3 separate regions of the Homo sapiens genome follow, and regions 1 and 3 are each linked to region 2. The links are contacts of gene promoters, found by promoter capture Hi-C in human tissues and cell types (Jung and others, 2019). All regions are on one chromosome and are shown on one strand. The core of a region is centred on a gene start or on the middle of the fragment in contact, and the rest is flanking DNA. Distances in the headings are between cores, read along the strand shown. Region 1 holds the start of LOC105371525 (a long non-coding RNA gene). Region 2 holds the start of SPDYE4 (speedy/RINGO cell cycle regulator family member E4). Region 3 overlaps PIK3R6 (phosphoinositide-3-kinase regulatory subunit 6).

The links. Contacts are between HindIII fragments. The study calls those that stand out against the background at their distance.
Region 1: a fragment that was not itself captured here is called in contact with the fragment with the promoter of SPDYE4 in region 2 in 6 of the 25 tissues and cell types used here (H1 embryonic stem cells, heart left ventricle, liver and 3 more).
Region 3: a contact is called between a fragment that was not itself captured here and the fragment with the promoter of SPDYE4 in region 2, in 2 of the 25 tissues and cell types used here (lymphoblastoid cells and pancreas).

The regions. Positions count from the first base shown.
Region 1 is chr17:8,669,381-8,674,178 of GRCh38, reverse strand. It overlaps LOC105371525 (a long non-coding RNA gene), which reads right to left and starts at 3,597. Exons shown (of 4, transcript XR_001752781.1): 1 at 3,251-3,597. RefSeq lists an enhancer at 1-2,176. The HindIII fragment of the contact is 4,950 bases long and covers 1-4,050 here.
Region 2 is chr17:8,755,841-8,760,341 of GRCh38, reverse strand. It overlaps SPDYE4 (speedy/RINGO cell cycle regulator family member E4), which reads left to right and starts at 1,796. Exons shown (of 7, transcript NM_001394956.1): 1 at 1,796-2,068; 2 at 2,850-3,080; 3 at 3,906-3,964. The coding sequence starts at 1,960. The HindIII fragment of the contact is 5,925 bases long and covers 1-4,501 here.
Region 3 is chr17:8,823,331-8,827,792 of GRCh38, reverse strand. PIK3R6 (phosphoinositide-3-kinase regulatory subunit 6) reads left to right here. Exons shown (of 20, transcript NM_001010855.4): 13 at 499-621; 14 at 4,296-4,406. Among named protein-coding and RNA genes, the nearest start is that of MFSD6L, 26 kb to the right of the region's middle. RefSeq lists an enhancer at 1-208. The HindIII fragment of the contact is 6,216 bases long and covers 1-4,462 here.

The sequences.
Region 1 (4,798 bases), core at 326-2,825, 86 kb after region 2:
ACCTGGACACCCAGAAGGAGCATCAGGGGATCAGCACTGGGTTTGGGGAGGCACAGCCCAGGACAGGGTTTAGAAAACTGGGGTTTTGGTGTGGCTCTACCACTGATCTTGGCAGAGCAGCTTTGCAGTACCTTGGGTTAGGGCTTGACTTTCCTGGGCCACAGTTTCTTCATCAATAAAATGGAGACAATTAATGACTAACTCACTGACTGTCCAATAGTCAATAAAGATTCTGGAGCTCTAACTGTTAGGGACTGTCTTTTTGGCCAGCAGGAAGTATTCAGTGAGGTACTAGCAGAGGAAATGCTTTGAGCAGTATGAAGCTCCTTATCAGCATTTCCCAAGGGACGCACCATGGATGTGGGCTGTTAATCATGTTCCACAAAAATAAAAAGGGCTCTGTGTTCTGTTGAGGAAATGCTTGATTAAATTGAATTAAATAGTCTTTGATTTAGGACTGCTCTGGGTCTTTTATTGAATGTGCACTGTGACTTGCCAGGGCAAGTGTGTGTGTGTGTGTGTGTGTGTGTGTGTGTGTAGGAAAATGTAATCAGACCTCCCCAGACTTGCTTGTTTGGTGATACCATTAATTAGTGAAACACTTCTCATTTTGTCCTCCTTTTAAAAATTCTGGTAAAATAATATGTAACACAAAGTTTACCATTCCGGGGGCATTAAGTATCTTCACGCTGTAACAATGTGCAATCATCACTATCATCCATCTGCACAGCTTTTTCATCTTTCCAAACTGAAACTCTGTATCCATTAAACAGTAACTCCCCATTCCCTGATCTCCTGGCTCCTAGCAAGCACCATTCTACTTTCTGTCTTTATGCATTTGACTACTCCAGCTACCTCATATAAGCAGAATTGTGTAATATTTGTGCTTTTATGTTGGACTTATTTCACTTAGCATAATGTTCTCAAGCTTCATCTGTGTTGCACCAAGTGTCAGAATATCCTTCCTATTAAGGCTGAATAATTGTAGGACCATATGTATATGCTACATTTTATCTATCCACTTATCCATTGATGGAGATTAGGGTTGTTTCTTCCTCTTGGCTATTGTGAATCATGATGTTGTGAACAGGGGAGCATACATATCTGTTCCAGTCCCCACTTCGATTCAGAAGTGAAATTGCTGGATGATAGAGCATCTCCTGGGCTAGTGTTTTGTGGAGCAAACTTTGGAAAGATTGCTCTCGGCCGGGCGCAGTGGCTCAAGTCTGTAATCCCAGCACTTTGGGAGGCCGAGGTGGGCGGATCATGAGGTCAGGAGATCGAGACCACGGTGAAATCCCGTCTCTACTAAAAATACAAAAAATTAGCCAGGCGCGGTGGCAGGCACCTGTAGTCCCAGCTACTGAGGAGGCTGAGGCAGGAGAATGGCGTGAACCCAGGAGGTGGAGCTTGCAGTGAGCCGAGATTGCACCACTGCACTCCAGCCTGGGCAACAGAGCAAGACTCCTTCTCAAAAAAATAAATAAATAAATAAATAAAGATTGCTCTGTATAAGTCTGGGGGCGGAGTACTATTAAGTGAGAACATTGCTGAATTTTCCAGGGATGTCCCTGCCCTGGATGATACAGTGGGAAAGCATGCTGGATTAGGAGTGAGGACTCGAATTCCTCCCTGAGCTCTGCGGGCCTTGGTTTCTGCAACGGTTAAATAACCATGACAAACTGGGTGATCTTTTGAAATCTAGGATTCTTTGGCCTATTGTGGTTCCCCTCCCACAGGCATCAGGGTGGTGGGTGAGGGTGAGGGCGGCGGGAGGGAGAAGTCTGGGAAGGAGACATTAGCTTGAGACGAGGATAACTTAATGTCTTCATCCTTTGACCTCGACGTTTTAATTGTTTAACCTACAGTTGACTCTTGAACAACACGGATTTGAACTGTGCAGGTCCACCATATACGTGGATTTTCTTCCACCTCTGAGATAGCAAGACCAACCCCTCCTCTTCCTCTTCCTCCTCAGCCTACTCAATGTGAAGGTGATGAGGATGAAGAACCTTATGATGATCTACTTCCACTTAAGGAGTAGCAAATATATTTTATCTTCCTTATGATTTTTTTCTCTTTTTTTTCTTTTTTTCTTTTTCTTTTTTGAGATAGAGTATAGCTCCTTTGCCCAGGCTGGAGTGCCGTGGTGTGATCTTGGTTCACCACAACCTCCGCCTCCTGGATTGAAGCGATTCTTCTGCCTTAGCCTCCGGAGTAGCTGGGACTACAGGCGTATGCCACTGTGCCTGGCCCCTTACGATTTTCTTAATAACATTTTATTTTCTGTGGCTTACTTTATTGGGTTTTTTGGGGGCTTTTTGGTTTTTGTTTTTTTGAGAGAGGGTCTGTTGCCCAGGCTGGAGTGCAGTGGCACTATCTTAGCTCACTGCAACCTCCTTCTCCTGGGTTCAAGCGATTTTCCTGCCTCAGCCCCCAAGTAGCTGAGATTACAGGCACACACCACCACACCCGGCTAATTTTTGTATTTTTAGATGGGTTTTCACCACGTTGGCCAGGCTGGTCTTGAACTCCTTACCTCAAGTGATCCACCCACCTTGGCCTCCCAAAGTGCTGGGATTATAGGCATGAGCCACCGCACCCGGCCTTTGGCTTACTAATATATATATATATATATATATATATATATATATATATATATATATATATATGGTTTTTTTTAATTTTTCCCCGAGACGGAGTCTCACTCTGTCACCCAGGCTGGAGTGCAGTGGTGCGATCTTGGCTCACTGCAACCTCTGCCTCCCAGGTTAAAGCAATTCTTCTGCCTCAGCCTCCCGAGTAGCTGGTACTACAGGTGCATATCATCACGCCCGGCTAATATTTTGTATTTTTAGTAGAGACAGGGTTTCACCATGTTGGCCAGGCTGATCTCAAACTCCTGACCTCGTGATCCACCTGCCTCGGCCTCCCAAAGTGGTGGGATTACAGGCGTGAGCCACCGTGCCCAGTCAGGTTACTTTATTGTAAGAATACAACATATAATACATATAACACACAAAATATGTGTTAATTGTTTATGTGATCAGCATGGCTTCCAGTCAGCAGAAGGCTATTAGTAAAGTTTGGGGGAGTAAAAAAAAAATTGTACGTGGATTTTCAGCTGCGTGGTTGTCGGCGCGAGTAAACCGCCCCCCCCCCGCCCCCGCCCCACGCCCGCCACTTTGTTGTTCAGAGGTCAGCTGTATTTTCTTTTATGAGGGAAAGCCATATTTTGCTCTTTCCTCACCTTTGTGCTTCGGGATCCAAACACTTCTTGGATAGTTCTCTCTCAGTTGTTCTTTCGCCTCTAGAGCTGGTATCATAGTTGTGAACTTCTCTTTTGACCTTCCCCTCCGCAATCAGTCTAACGGCTACTGGGAAAGAATGAGCTGCTGTGTCTCCTCTTCCACTTTTCTCTGCTTAGCCTGGCTTTCCTTTTCTTCCACTATTAGAAACACACACAAAAAAGAAAAGTCCCACGTGTTTGTCTCCAGACCATGAGGGTAAACCTCAGGAATGACGCTTTCCTCTAGGAGTTAAGTACTTTTCCTCTTCAAAAGTAAAGTCTTCCCTCTCCCGATAGGAATCTCTGGCTGCTGCTTGAATTTTAAATATAATAACCAGGTTTATACATTAAGCAAGCTTTGCCTGGTTCCCTCAGCAACAGCTCTAACTTGGATAGCTTGCCATAGCATGTTCTAAAGGAACTTGTGCATTTCATTATAATAACATCCCACTTATTCAGAAGGGAAGAAATCTTAACTTTTCAGAAAGACGGAAAGCTAAAATTAGGCCATGAACCAAAACAAAACCTTTTAAGCCCCTCGAATAACCTTCACAATGTCCTGCTCTAAAGACAAGAGCGGCCAGGTGCGGTGGCTCATGCCTGTAATCCCAGCACTTTGGGAGGCCGAGGCGGGTGGATCATGATGTCAGGAGTTCAAGACCAGCCTGGCCAAGATGGTGAAACCCCGTCTCTACTAAAAAAACTACAAAAATTAGCCAGGCGCGGTGGCGCACGCCTGTAATCCCAGCTACTTGGGAGGCTGAGGCAGAATAATTGCTTGAACCTGGGCAGCAGAGGTTGCAGTGAGCTGAGACTGCGCTACTGCACTCCAGCCAGGGGACAGAGAGAGACTCTGTCTCAAAAAAAAAACAAACAAACAAAAAAAAAAAAAAACACAAGAACTTTACTTGCAAGAAAGTCTTAAGGCCCTGTGATTCTGTTTACTCTTTTTTTTTTTAACACATCCTTCTCCACTGCGAATAAAAAATAGGGAGGGGCTGCTAGAAGTAGACACAGTTAGCACAGTGTCAACCCATATGGTAGCCTGAAGACAAAGGAGACAGAAAAACTCAAAAAAAGAGCAGGCATAGATCTGTGCTGTGACAGTTTTGACAGATTCCAATCAAAATGGATAAAATAAAGTGTTGGGTTTTGTAGAGATAAGCTTCAGTTATCCGGAAAGCTCATTGCATTCAGCGCCACCAGAGCTGTCCAATGGAAGCATCACTGTGTTTTGAACCAAAAAATCTAGCAAGGCATTCATACAAAGATTTCCAGTCTATTCATTGGATGAATCCCCAGTGGTATGTATGGCAGTGGGGGAGCTGGTGAGATCTTGGCTAAGACTGAAGCCCTGGATTTTACGAAAGTTTGATGATTCTGTGCAGGAAAAACTGATATATTAAATGCACAGCAGTCCTTATGTTTAGGCATAGGTGGGGGTTTTAGCCTGTGGGCAACTTGCAGTGTTGATTTAGGGAAAATACTTTAATGGGCCTTTGATTCTGT
Region 2 (4,501 bases), core at 547-3,046:
TCATCTCCAACTCCTGGGTTCAAGTGATTCTCCAGCCTTGGCCTCCCAAAGTGTAGGGATGACAGGCAGGAGCCACCATGCCAGCCAATAAAGCCCTTCTGTTTCACTCTAATGATATCTTTGGTGCATAGCTACAGCCATTGTTGTATTAACCTGCATCACTGAAGGAAAAGAGAAGGGGAGAAGTGATAGTTTTGCTTTTCCCTGAACATATCAGATGAAACCTGAACTGTTTAGCTCATTTTTGGACAATGTATTGACATAATTTAAGATGGCTGCCTTATTGTAGCCTGTCTACAGAAGGTGCCTAGAAGACAGAGGAATATGTAAAACTGGCTTGAAGAGTGATTAATCAGAACTTTACGTGGTACAGAAGAGAAATTTTAATGGCAACAGAATATTGATCTTCTAATGTTTGAAAGCCTATTAAATAGGAGAGAAAGATGATTTTCTGTTTTGTTGTAAAAGGATCCAACCAGTTCTGATGGTTGAAAGCATCGTGAATGCGAAGGTCCACTCAATGTAAGCAGAGTTTCCTAACAATTGGACTTCCACAGCGACGGGATCTGCCTCCTCATTCAGTTGTGCCTTTCCCATCAGCGAGAGACTCCTAGGAGCCCATTAGGAAGCTGTGCCAGAACTCACAGGTTCTTTGGATGGTATCTGAGATAGTATCCAGCTCTTACATTTTTATTTTTTCCGAAAAAAATATTTTTGAGACTGAGTCTCACTCTGTCCTCCAGGCTGGTGTGCAGTGGTGCAATCATAGCTCACTGCAGCCTCAAACACTTGGGCTGAAGCAATCCTCCTGCCTCAGCCTCCCAAGTACTGGGACCACAGGTGTGTGCCACGATTCCTGATTACTTTGTTTATATTTTGTAGAGATGACGTTTTGCTATGTTGCCCAGACTAATCTTGAACTCCTAACCTCAAGTGACGCCCTGCCTTGGCCTCCCAAAGGAGGGAGATTATGAGCAGGAGCCCCTGGGCCTGGCTGAGATTTTCCCCTTAGTCTTTTTATACACAGGATATTTTATTCATAAAATACATAAATAGTAGGCAAATTTTGGGGTCAAGTGAAATAGATATGTTGTAATAGTTGATATATAGACCAGAGTTCCTTAGCTGAACTGGAGGGCAGGCTTTAGGTGATCCATGGATGCCCTGAACTTGTGGACACCATTGAAAATCTGTACGAAACCATGGACAGTCTCCTGTGATTTTCATTCCTCAAAATGTCTCTTGGACTCAAAGATGCCTGAGAGCAAAGGATGCATGTTCCCCTACTATAGGATCCAGGATAGTGAATATCAGTAAACATTCAGCAAAAAAGCTTTGCCACATTGAGTACTTCGACGTAACGTCTCCATTCAACAAGTCAATTTACCCAGGATCTCCTGTATATGTTAATCTCACTCTTGGAAGGACTCATCATTCTGCTTACCCTAAATTTCCTTCCACCTTCCTCCCTCTCTCACCAGACTAGACTCTGAAATGGGAAGGAGAAGCGGGGAGGAGAGCCCAACACCCCCTCAAGTTTAGAGTGGAGAGGACACAGCCTCTGCTGGGACAGGGAAAAGAGGAATGTGGAGACCCTGAGGATGCTTTTGGACAATGCTCAGAGGTTGGGACATTGCCAGGAGATACCGTTCACCCCGGATCTCCAAGAAAAGAGATCAGTCTGGCAGTTACATGTGTTTTTCTTCAAAGTAGTTGCCAGTTTGGAATGACCGATGACATCAGAGATTCCGACTTTCCTGATTGGAAGGACCGGACTCTGGTTGCTTGGGAGTTCAGGTGGACAACAGCAACTTCTCAGAACTACTCTTCACTCCTAACTTCTCCCGAGCCTCTAGAAGAGAAACGCACTCTTCTGGGTCCTAACGGAGTCTGGAAGAAGGCTTTGGACAGAACAGGGACTAGGTTTTGTGGACAGAAACAAAGTGTTTGGGAGAGATTATGGCCAGTGGTCAAGCGCGCCCCCCGTTTGAGGAGGAGAGCCCCCAGCCTAGCACAACGGTACGGTCCCCCGAGGTGGTGGTGGATGATGAAGTGCCAGGACCATCAGGTGAGGTGACTGGAGGGAGAAGCGATGGGAGATGATTGACTGAGGAGAGGGAAGGGGGCCAGTTACTGGGAATCTGAAGCACCTGAGTAGGGTGTGTGGGAAAGAAACGACGGACTCAGGAAGCCAGGGATCGGGGAAGGAGGGTGCAGGGAATGGGGCCAAGCATGGCCACGTGTAAAGAAAGTCTGGGGAGCAATGAAGGGGGTCAGGAGATGTGCTCAAAAGATGAGAGAGGAAGGCCGAGGCGGACGGATCACGAGGTCAGAAGATCGAGACCATCCTGGTTAACACGATGAAACCCTGTCTCTACCAAAAATACAAAAGTGAGTTGGGCATGGTGGTGCGTGCCTGTAGTCCCAGCTACTCAAGAGGCTGAGGCAGGAGAATCATTTGAACCCAGGAGGCGGAGGTTGCAGTGAACCAAGATTGTGCCACTGCACTCCGGTCTGGGCAACAAGAGGGAGACTCCATCTCAAAAAAAAAAAAAAGAGAGAGAGAGAGAGAGAGCAGACAGAGCTCAAGGGAAGGTTTCCATTTTTCTCCAATTGAAAGTTCTTATCTGTGATGAGGAAATGTTTTGAGGACAGAGAGCCGGAAGAATGGGGAGGTGAGGGAGAGGCAGATGGGGATCAGCAAAGGAGAAAGGTGGAAACATGGCTTGGAGAAGCTGACAGTCTGCGAGGCTTGGGAGGATGGAAGAGTAGTTTGAGGTTCCTGGGTCGGGGCGTCTAAGGTGATCAATGGCAGAAACATGACACCATGGCCTGGTTTCTTCACTCAGCCCCTTGGATAGATCCCAGCCCCCAGCCTCAATCCCTTGGCCTGAAAAGGAAGAGCGAATGGTCAGACGAATCCGAGGAGGAGCTGGAGGAGGAGCTGGAGTTGGAGCGCGCCCCTGAGCCCGAGGACACCTGGGTGGTGGAGACGCTGTGTGGGCTCAAGATGAAGCTGAAGCGAAAGCGAGCATCCTCCGTGCTCCCTGAGCACCACGAGGCCTTCAACAGGCTCCTTGGTAGGAGGATACCCCAAAAAGCACCTCCAACCCTGTTCTTTTAAAAAAGTGGAATCTTTCAATAATCACACTTTCCCAATAAGAAGAATATGCCCTCCTGGGGGATGAGCGCTCCATGCAGGAGGAGGATGCTTAGGAGATAGAGGATTAGGCTAGTCTTAATAAAGGTCTGCACTTGAAATAAGAAAGCTTGGTTTCTGGCCAGGTGCAGTGGCTCATGCCTGAGATCTTGGTGCTTTGGGAGGCTGAGGCGGGAGGATCTCTTGAACTCAGGAGTTTGAAGTTGCAATGAGCTATGATTGCACCACTGCACTCCAGCCTGGTTGACAAGGAAAGACCCTGTCATAAAATAAATAAAATAAAATAAAATAAAAGATAAAAGAAAGCTTGGTTTCAGCTGTACCCTCTGAAACTCTATGTCTCTTGATGACTTTTCTAAACCTAAGTGTCTCCATCCGTGGAGGGGGATAACAAGGCCATGGGCACACCCAGCTGTGACTATCTCAGGAAGCAATGATGGGAATTCTATTATGACTTCTGCAGTGGTCCCTTCCTGTCTGATGGGAGGACATCATGGCTTATTCACAGCTCTTCATCCTGTAGACTCTGACACCAGAGGCCTCCTTCGGCCTCTCCTCAGGGGAATCTCAGAGCGGGAGCCTCCCTCCTTGCCCAGTGAAAGTCCTTCTCTCCTCTCCCATCCACCTAAGCCTTGGCCACAATCCTGAGACTTCCCCCAGAGGGACACAGTTCTCCTCTCTGCTCTGCTGCTCCCACGGCAACCCTGTTCCACTTCTCACCCTGACACAGGCTCTCTTTTCACAGGGGATCCTGTCGTTCAAAAATTCCTGGCCTGGGACAAAGACCTGAGGGTGTCAGACAAGGTAAGGTTGTTCTCCACTCAACTGTGTTCCTGCTTTAACACACGTCCTGGGGAAGGGTGCAGCGTCTAAACCCACAGTTTCTCTCCTCTCTCCCTCTACCATCTCCCACCTGCTGATTCCATACTCTTGGGCGCCCACATTTTGATTTTTATTTTTTCAGAAACAGGGTCTCGTTCTGTTGCCCAGGCTGGAATGCAGTGTTGCCATCATAGCTCACTGCAGCCTCAGCCTCCTGGGCTCAAGTGATCCTCCCGCCTCGGCCTCTCCAATAGCTGGGACTCCAGGCGTGAGTCACCGCCCCCAGCTATTCTAGGTCTTCTCATAATTTGTCAGCATCTCCCTCGGGGCTCTGGTAGCCTGTTGCATAGTTGATGGGTGGCCCCTGCCTCTGCACAGGGTCCTTTGGAATCCAGGCCCTGGGCCAGTCTTGAAACTCCTGACCCCTATCCTCTCAGATCTTTGGGACAGTCCTTTGCCCCAGCTCACCAAGACCCTCCTGACATTAGCAGCCCTAGACACTCTCCCTCCAGTGATCCC
Region 3 (4,462 bases), core at 1,513-4,012, 66 kb before region 2:
CTCTCTCTCTCTCTCTCTCTCTCTCTCTCCTCTCTCTCTCTCTCTCTCTCCCCTTCCCTCCCCTCTCTCATACACACACATACACACACACCCCACACTTTCTGGTATGACATGAAAGGAAATTGCAGGCAGTGAAGTCCATTGATCTAGTTGTGGGGACAGAGCCACACTTGCAGTCCTTACTCCTACCGCATGCTCCACTTCCTACTACACACTCCACTTCCTATTGGGAAGCAGTAAGGTCAAAGCCATACTTGTCTCTCCCCTTTTAAAGTCGGTGATCATTTTTCAATGTCCCTGCTGAGTGAACCTCAGCAAAAGATATTCTAGCTTCATCTGAGTTTATAAAACAGAACAACGACGTGTCTTCACATGCAGAAATTCATGCCCCAAGAGGTTAAATGACTTGACCATATTCACACAGCCTAGGCTGATGGCAGCTGGAAGGCAGAGCTGGAGAGAGGGCCTGACGGGTCTGCCCCATCCCCTTTCCCCCAGAAGCCTGCAGCATCCAGGCAGCCGGAGCTGGGAGAGCTGGCTACGTTCCTGGGCCGCGTAGACCCGTGGTACCAGAGCAACGTCAACACGCTGTGCCCCGCCATCCACAAGCTGGCTGAGATGGTAGGGGAGGGTGAGGGTACCAGGGAGGGAGAGAGGGACGGGAGTGGGGTCTGGGCAGAGGGGAGAACGGAGGAGCCCAAGTAGGCAGCGAGGGTGAAATGGGGGTGAGAGGGGGCCATCTTTTTGCTGCTGCACTTGACCTTTGACCTTAAGAGTCAGGTGGGATGAGACATGAAGGGAATTCAAGACAGGGGCCCTAACCAGATAGTGGCTTTGAACTCACTCGGGACACTTACCAGGCTCGTACTTTGGACCAGACCACCGTGGAAAAGACGAAGTAAAATATTCCTTCGTAAGTGTGTAGGGCAGTTATACTCCTTCTTGTGTGAGCTTCCTGTGATCCTTTTTCTTTTTTTATCATTTATCTATTTATTTTTATTTTACTTCACGTTCTGGGATACATGTGCAGAACATGCAGGTTTGTTACACAGGTATACATGTGCCATGGTGGTTTGCTGCACCCATCAACCCCTTATCTAGGTTTTAAGCCCCGCATGCATTAGATATTTGTCCTAATGCTCTCCCTTCCCTTGCCCCCAACCCCCAGACAGGCCCCGGTGTGTGATGTTCCACTCCCTGTGTCCATGTGTTCTCATTGTTCAGCTCCCACTTACGAGTGAGAACATGTGGTGTTTGGTTTTCTGTTCCTATGTTAGTTTGCTGAGAATGATGGTTTCCAGCTTCACCATGTCCCTGAAAAGGACATTAACTCACTCTTTTTTTATGGCTGCATAGTATTCCATGGTGTATATGTGCCACAATTTCTTTGTCCTGTCTATCATTGATGGGCATTTGGGCTGGTTCCAAGTCTTTGCTATTGTAAATAGTGCCACAATAAACATACGTGTGCATGTGTCTTTATAGTGGAATGAATCATTTTTCAATGATTGTAACAGCTGATGTTTCCTGAGCACTTATGCTGCACTGGGCACTGTTCTAAACACTTACACACAGGGCAGCTCATTTAATTCCCACAGCAGCCCAGAGGCAGGTGCCCCTGTTGGTAGGTACCATTGTCACCATAGCCCCGTTTTACAGATAGAGCAGCTGAGGCACAAAGAGATTAAGTATCTTGCCTGAAGTCACAGAATGAGTGGTGGAATGCCAGTTGGAAACAGGCAGCTTGACTCCAGAGCACCCTCTCCTAACCACAAACCCACACTGCCATACCCCAACCGTGGCTGGCAGTGGGGAGGGAACTCATCTTTTACTGATTTGAAAGGGCTTTTATATAGTAAGAGAATTCTAACTTTTTTGTTGTTACATATGTTGCAGATTTTTTTCCCATAGTTGTAACTTGCCTATCCACTTTTTGACTTGCAGAAGTTTAATACTTGGGTGTAGTCAGACATAGCACTTTTATTCTTTACAGTTTCTGCCTTTGGAGTCATGCTTCCAAAAGCTTAAATAAATGTTCACTGATAATTTAACACTTTCCATGTCTCAATTTTTACATTTAATTAATTGTCTATCTGCAGTTAATTTTATTGTTTAATGTGAAGTATGTCATTTTATTTTTTCCAAATGTTGAGCTAGTTGTCCTAAAGCTATTTTGCATAAACCATCTTGCCGCAGAAATTTGAAATGCCACTTTTATCATTTGCTAAATACTTACGTGTACTTGTATTTAGTACATGATACTAACATGTGCTTGTATTTAGTACGTGATCCTTACATGTGCTTGTAAGTATTTAGTACATACCTATGCTCTCATTGATTTATTCATTTCTGTACAAATTAGCCTTTTGATATTTTAATATCTGGCTATAGAAGCCTGCCTACCCTATTATTCTTCTTTTTCAAAACTTTTCAGAATATGCTTATTTCTCTTCCTGATAAACTTTAGAATTTCAAGTTTTGTTTTTGTTATTATTTTTAATCCTATTGGATTTCGATTGAAATTTGGGGAGAATTAGCATCTTTCGCATATTGAGTTTTTCTCTCTAGGAGCATGGTGTAGCTCTTCATTTGTCCAAGTGTCCTTATATATCCCTCAGTATAAGTGTAAAGTTTGCGTCATACAGCTTCTGTCCAATTCTCACTAAATTTATTACTCGTGTGTGATAGTGTTTCTTACTATTGCGAATGGTATCTTTATGCCATTATATTTGGGTAGTGCCTGCTGCTAATATAAAAGAAAGCTATTGACTTATACACATTTATTTACTTTAGTTTTAAAAACTGCGGTAAAAAATATAACATTAATTTACCACTTTTACATATCTGTTTTTTAACTTGTCACTGTACTGAGCTCTCCATTTTGCTTTATCATTTGACTGATGAGGGTGTCTTCTTACATATTTTATTCGAATAAGGATATTTAGGGGTGCACATTTTCTGGCTTATACCTGATCCGAAAATGTCTTTGCATACACACAAAGACCATTTAGCTGGGTATTAAAATACTTTTTCCTTGAAACTTGGATGCTATTACAGTGGGAACATTTGATGCAGGCCCCATTGGTGCTCCTTTGCTGGTAGCTATTTTTCTCCGCTGGGACACTGTAAGGTTTTGGTTTTCCCCTTCTCCTTGTAATTAACAATTTGAATGGCCCTATGCTTACTCCAAAAGCGGTTTCCACATGAAGATACCAGAAACAATGTGAGCAATGACAGCATTATTAGACTACGTTCATAGCTCCTCAGTGTGACCCTTTCGAAGGGAACAATATTTCAGTACACCAGATGTGAGAGATAGAAGAGGTCTTAGAGGATCGGATATGAGTTGGATGAGATCAACTCTGAGCTTCCTTCTAGCCCTGACACTATCACATTCTATGTAGATGTTCTGAAAACCCAGTCACTATGCTTTATCATCATATGGGACCAGGGAAGGACTGGAGGACAAGACGCATAGTCCATTCCCAATAACACGCAAACCTGAATTGTTTTATTTTATTTTGAGATGGAGTTTCGCTCTTGTTGCCCAGGCTGGAGTGCAATGGCACAATCTTGGCTCACTGCAACCTCCGCCTCCTGGATTCAAACGATTCTCCTGCCTTAGCCTCCTGAGTAGCTGGGATTACAGGAATGTGCCACCACATCTGGCTAATTTTGTATTTTTAGTAGAGATGAGGTTTCTCCATGTTGGTCAGGCTGGTCTCGAACTCCTGACCTCAGGTGACCCGCCCACCTCAGCCTCCCAAAGTGTTGAGATTACAGGTGTTGAGCCACCACACCCAGCCAATTAGTTTATTAATAGATGCAGAGACCACCAGAGCTGAAAGAGACATCAGATCATCTGGTTCAACCTCTCATTTTCTGTAGAAGGACACTCGGGCCTCATAGAGTTTGAATAACTTGCCCACGCCTGCTTGGCCAATGGCAAGTAGCCCATCCGAGCCTAGAACCCACTCCTGGGTCTCTCATTAGATTCACTCTCCAGCATCTTGTCTCCCTCAATCACTTAGCACAGTGCCTCACACATAGCAGCGCTCAGTAGTCTCTGTAGGATTGAAATCAGTCGGATTCCCTAGGGAGGCAGGGCTCTGGACAGGAATATTTTGATTGGGAGTGGAAATTCAGTGGTAGGAAAGGTTTGGAATGTGTTGAAGGACGCACTGGGTTAGTGCATCCCAGAGATGTAGGGGCTTGAAGTTTCTCTCTGAAGAAAATGGCATCTCCCACAGTGGCCTTGGGGGAGTTGGTGAAGACATTCCCTGTCTCCATCACAGCCTCCTTCCCTGGACACATCCCGGACTGTGGACCCCTTCATCCTAGACGTCATCACCTACTACATCCGCATGGGCACCCAACCCATCTATTTCCAGATCTACACAGTCAAGGTAAGCATCCCACTGGAGGCTCCAAGGGACCCCAGGACCCCACCGATTAAATACCC